Linked DNA regions of Homo sapiens: region 2 is linked to region 1. Evidence: promoter capture Hi-C in 16 types of primary human blood cells and fetal thymus (Javierre and others, 2016). All regions are on one chromosome and are shown on one strand. Each heading gives the region's core, a stretch centred on a gene start or on the middle of the fragment in contact. The rest is flanking DNA. Distances are from core to core; before and after follow the strand shown. Region 1 holds the start of DAB2 (DAB adaptor protein 2). Region 2 has its middle 46 kb from the start of LINC02104.

Region 1 (3,069 bases), core at 303-2,802:
TCTGCATAAATGTTATAAATAGAATACTATCCTAGGACTAAAATTTGTATACTTCCTGTCATTCACACAAAGTCATTTTTTAAAATAGCAAATTACCTCTGAGGAATATTGAAAACTGCCAGCATGGCCCTCCCTGCCTCCACACCCCTAGGTGTGTCAGGGGATGAGAAATAGTAGAGGCTGGGGAAGTAGAATTCTGGGCCAGCTGTGCTGCTCTGCACCCCTCAGTCTCCCCGAACAACGGTTGTTTCAAGCCTGACCTACTTGAGAGCAGACATTGCCACTCACATTGAGCTACCCCAAATTACACAGTGGCTTTGCAGTCGAGGCTAGGCACGGACCACAAAATATATCCTTGATGTCCCACGAGCCCTATTTGAACCCTCAGTTTCCAGAGGTAAAATGCAAATCCACTGTGTTGCTTACTCGATAAAATCAATAACCCCCTCCCATCCGAGATACAATTTAGCATTTTCACATTTACTACGTGCTGCCTCTGACTTTAAACAATTAAATTTTTTTCTTAAAAAAAGGGAAAAGAGACACGTCTTTCACAAGAGTAATTTCAGAATTCTCCAAAAAGCAACAGAGCTTCTGTGGATGTTTTACAATAATTCTTGATTTTAAAATATGGAGAAAATGAATTCTCAGCTTGTTAACACTCATTAGGATTTGCTGCGGAGTACCTTCTACCGCTCAGCACTCTACGTTAACATTTTTAAATATTTTATTTCTTGCAGTTCATGTTTTTCCTAGAGTTATAGGAAGTGCTATGGAAATTCATGCAGATAAAGTCATGTTATGTGTCTACATATAGGTGTATATACACTGTAAGGGAAGCCTGTATAGAATCTCTGATTGTATCAGAATTATAACTTATTTGATAGGCTACATAGACGTGAACATGTTTTGCTCATATCGATTTCAGAGAGAATATTATTTTTATATCCATATATATGATTATATTTCATAGGTAAATACAGTATGTTTCACATATGCACACATAGATTTCCCACTAACTTAAGCGCATTTGCATCTGCAATGAGGGAGACACTAATTTCTTCTAAGGGGAGCAAATCCAATCGCGCGATCAACTTTAGAAACTGCAGATCTGCGCAGGAACCGTTGTCCCTTGTCAGAAAAGTCAGGAGTAAAGGCAGTCCTTTGTTCAAAGGGCCCCAACGGGTTGGTTAGGATGACTCCGTGTGCCACATCACTCGCAGTGGCAATCCAGGGAACGGATCTGTGAAACGAAGCTCGGTGGATCCCACCCCTTTCCTCCAGAGCTTCCCTTTCCTGTCCTTATTTGCACCCGCCCCCCGCCCGCGTCGGTCTGGGGCTTTTGACTTCTCCCCGAACACATTTCCCCTCCCGTCGCTGGGTCCCTGCGATCGCCCCCAGCTGGTGGGGCTCGCGGAGCTCAGGGGAGCGGGGTCCTCTGCGCCGCTGCAGCGCGAGTTAATAAACAGTTAAGTTTGGAAGACTCTGCAGACACGTTGAGGGGGAGTTACCAAGCCCAGGCAGCAAAAACATCCTGGCACATTCCTGGGGAGTCCTCAGCTGCCAGCATCTGATTAGAACCATATCTCTCGCCGGGAGTGGCCGCGCGGCTCCGAAGCTCCCGGCCGGCGGCTATTTAAGCGAGGCCCGCCGCATCCGCTGCGCTGTAGCCTGGAGGCTCCGGGCGCGGGGAAGTCATGCTCGCTTCACGGAGGCAATAGCTAGCCGGTGAGTAGCTTCGAAACCCTTCTTCCCTCTGGCTCCATTTTTTTTTTAAAGATCTCCTTCTCTCCTTTGCTCCCCCTCTCTCACCCCCCCGCCCCCCGCTACCCTTCTTTGAGTACAGACCTTGGGCTGTGGGGAATCTTAGAAATGAGACCCTGTGCTTGGGGAAACCAGCAGTTTTGTGGCCTGACATCTGAGGAATGCTTCCGCGGAATGTATTTACCTTTCGAATCCGACTCCAGATGCCCAGCTTGTGACATTTAACAAACGCCTCCTTTTGTGTCGTGTGTGTGTGTGTGTGTGTGTGTGTGTGTGTGTGTGTGTGTGTGTGTGTGTAAAAGGTCTGCGGGCAGCCCTCCTAGGACACTGAGGTGGCTGCTGACCGCCTAATTAACTCCTCGAAGGGTGTTTATTTTTGCTGTGTGACAAAGGCTGGGGACCTGGCTTGTGCCCATAAGGAGCTTTTTCCTGGTGACTGACAACATATGGCATTAAAATGTGAACTTTTGTCTTACACCGGCATTCCTAAGGAAGTATCTACCCAAGGGACTTAAGAAACTTGTTTTATATCCCCCGGCGCAGGGAGCATGGTTTATATGGTGCTTGCCTGCCTGTTGTAAGCTGGTTAAAAAGATTAAGTAAGAATTCTAAAAAAGGGGGGAAAAATGAATGGGTTAAAACCGTGGAGCCTCAGTCAACATAGCGGTTTTCATAGCATAGAGCTGACTCTGTTATTTGTTTCTGCTGTCTTTCCCTCTTGACTTAATTCTGAGCCTGGAATTCTGGTCCGCAGACAGTTTCAGCAGGGAGCTGAGTCCAAAGGGAAATTCAACTGGATTAAAAACACTTAAGGAATCTGGGTGTTATCTCCACCCCAACCACCCCCCACCTTTTCCCCTTTCTTTTTAGTTTTTGTTTGGAAGGAAGAGAGCCGCTCTGTAAACCGAGAAGAGCAGAAACAAGCTTCCAGACACATGGAAAGACTTAAAAATTATGGAGGGGCGACTTCACGAATAGTAAATGTTGCTATTGCTCTATAAAGTGACTTCATGAAAAAATTTCTGGCCTTAGTCAGGCAAAGCAGGGGCATGGGGGAGAAGGAGGTAAGATATAACTAATGCAAACAGAAGTAATGGGAGTGGAAAGCAGGCATCTACAAAAAATGCCTTTGAGATGTCTGATAAGCCTCTTGGAATGGCTTTGATGAGATGTATACTTGATTGTCCTTACAGTCTTGAGGTTGGCTTCTCACACAAAAGCACCTACTGGCTGTTGGGGAGGAGGGAGCTTGCAGCTACCAAATGGCTTGTCACCATGCTTCTTACCCCAGCAGCCAGACTTTGG
Region 2 (3,069 bases), core at 206-2,705, 140 kb before region 1:
GCACTGAATAGCATGAAGTGTTTGTGTAACTGGCAGCAGAATGGTTTAGTTGGAATGTAAGCCATAGGCAAGGAAATAAAGCTGGCCAATTAGGCAAGATTTAGATCTGATCACATGGGGCTTCAGTGTGATGTATTCTCAGAGGTTTGGAGGTTTTATCCTATGGATGACACCAACTAACTGAAAGATTCTAGGCTTGTGATGTGTGAGTGCTGGTGGTGGTGGCATAGGTTGCTGTAGCAAGGCTAAGAAACTGAAAACAGAAATCCACTATATTATTTTCCACAAGAGAGTCACTCCCCTTAATTTTAACATAAAGCAGTTAGGGCCATCTCAGAGGAACTCATGCAGGCAGAGGGCATTAAGTGAAAAGAGCAAGTTACCTGTAACAGCCCACACATTTCCCTCCGAGGTACTAAACATAGAAGAGAATGTTTTCTACTTAATTTGCTATTGCTACATTCCTTCCTCTACCTTATTTCAAGTAATTTAGAGCATCTCAGTTGTCTCCTTTTTCAAGCTACTTGTCTGTGGTGCAATCAAAACACATTTCTCAGTATTTATCTGCACAATTCATGGTTTCAATCAAGTGTTGACTTCTTTGATACAAGTAAGTTGATAACCTTGGAAACCTTTGCACTGATTGTAAATAGGGAGCTGAAGTCTCTTTACCACTAACAGGTCAGTACTGTTTGTTTCACACTAATAAATGTACATGTACATATAGATATATATGTGTATCTATATATACATGCATACATATATATAGATATGTATGTATATATACAGGTATATATACATACACAGACATATATACACATATATATTGACTTAATTTTTAAACTTTACTCCTACAAATTTAAGGGAAATACTGTTAATGTTTTAAATTTTATCCTGTGCATTAGCAATACCTGATCGACAGAGTTGTTTTAAGGCTTAAATAATAATAACATATAATGTACTTAACACAGCCTAACCAAAGCAGACACTTGCTCATAACTCCACCCTCCTCACTTCTAGCAGATTAGAAATGGACATCATAAATTTCATACTATATTTGACTGGACAGTATCAGGCAAAAAATAGAAGTCTACTTCAAACTATCTTAAATAAAAAAGGAACTTTTTTGGCTTTTGTAAAAGGAAGTTCAGAAATGGCTAAAGCCAGGTCCTGGATTGGATTAAATATATCAAATCTTTCATTCTCCTCCCTCCTCTTCTTTCTTTTCTTCCTTCCTTCCTCTTCCTTCCTCAGTACTGGCTAGATACTCAGGAAGCTTATCCTCAAGAGTGGCTAGGATGGCTGCCAGCAGCTCTAGACTTAAACTTCACCAGCTAAGCAATTTCAAAATAGAAAACATTTCTTTCCAATAGCTTCATCAAGAATATCCCAAAAGGCTGGCATAACCTAAAAGAAATAGAAATCCTGAAAATCATTAGAAAATTATAATCACAATGGGTACATTATGCCTAGAATACTGCATGGAATTCTGGTAAATTCAAATCAGGAAAAAGAAAGCTGACAAATATTCAACTAAAGGCAATTACTCTGACCCAGAGTATAAAGAAGTTTCCATATTGGGCCATGAAATAAAGATTTGACTCAAACCCAGAAAAATAAGGGCCTGAAGCTTGCACATAACAAGCCTGGGCATAGGAGAATAAATAAGGAAAAAAAAAAAAAAGGCATCTTAGCCTCTTGGGAATATGACCTGGCAAATTGGTAGTGTGTTTGTAAGAAGAAAATGTGTTCTTATTGTTCATCTCCCACTTATGAGTGAGAAAATGTGGTGTTTTGTTTTCTACACATACCGGGGCCTGTCGGGGAGTGGGGGGCAAAGGGAGGGAGAGCATTAGGACAAATACCTAATACATGTGGGCTTAAAACCTAGATGACAGATTGATAGGTGCAGCAAACCACCACAGCACATGCATATCTACGTAACAAGCCTGCACATTCTGCACATGTATCCCAGAACTTAAAGTAAAACAAAAAATAAAAAAAGAATATTCAGTCAAATTTGTCTATCTGCACAAAAAAATAAAAATAAAAATAAGTACATTTTTTAAAAAAGAAAATGTGTGCCTTCCTCCAGACAGACATAGCCGTGTTCCAGAGAGAGGGCTCAGCCAGGAGACTTGGGATGGACTTCAGCCTTTCATTGCGCCCTTGTTCAGCCACCTTTGGAGAGGCACTACCTACATAAACATAGCCAGCTGCTCTGGCTAAGAGAACATACAACACATCATCCGGTACTTGCTTTATGAATTAGTGAGTTTAAATACAAACCAATTTTCATTGCCAAACCCTTGATTATTAGAACTAGGTGAGCATACATTGTTATAAATATATGTAAGTTTCTGGCAAATTTTTACTTTCCACAACAGATGGGAGTAAACTTGCAGAATATATTTTCTTGATATGGTACATGCTAACATATTAAATAGTTTGAAAAGAATTAAGATTAATAAACTCAAGCAGCTACAGGGGTATGTATCTAGTTTGACATAAAATGGGTTATTATGTTTTTGCATATGAACATAACTTCATAAACTCACCAAAAGTTGAGTGGGAGTCCAATGTAACTCACCTGTGATGACAGATGACATCACAGTGATCAGATCCTTCTATACATTTTTTGGTATTGTCATCAGGACCATTGCTTTGACCCATTGTATCCAAAGTGAGTTATTTATACCCCTGTAAGTACCTAGAGGATTACTGGTGGTACACAGAAGGGGTGGAGGTAGTCTATGACTTGCAGGCACTTGGGCCAGGTGAAAGGAAGAAAAGAGGAGGAAGAAGACGGGGAGAGCAATGGTGATGGTCCATTTTCCTCTTGTTAACCACACTCACATATACAACTATGTGTTGGACTCTCCCACCTAAAATACTACTAAAGGGTTTCCAAGACACAGCTGGAACAATAGGGGTAGGTATCTCCAGAAATGAGGCACTCTTCAAGCAGCCGTCAGCCACATCACCTGAGGAAAGTCCATCCCAAGACAGGGCCCCATTGAAAGGATTCAGCTGTACATCCCTTAGACAGTTTAAAACAGGAATATGGTT

Evidence for each region. The method cuts DNA at HindIII sites, captures the fragments that hold promoters and counts their contacts. A CHiCAGO score of 5 or more calls a contact.
Region 2: a fragment that was not itself captured here is called in contact with the fragment with the promoter of DAB2 in region 1 in 3 of 17 cell types (M1 macrophages, M2 macrophages and M0 macrophages); the score reaches 8.1 in M1 macrophages.

Annotation. Positions count from the first base shown.
Region 1 is chr5:39,423,463-39,426,531 of GRCh38, reverse strand. DAB2 (DAB adaptor protein 2) reads left to right here and starts at 1,552. Exons shown (of 15, transcript NM_001343.4): 1 at 1,552-1,728. The HindIII fragment of the contact is 7,828 bases long and covers 1-2,690 here.
Region 2 is chr5:39,565,327-39,568,395 of GRCh38, reverse strand. No RefSeq gene overlaps it. Among named protein-coding and RNA genes, the nearest start is that of LINC02104, 46 kb to the right of the region's middle. The HindIII fragment of the contact is 354 bases long and covers 1,279-1,632 here.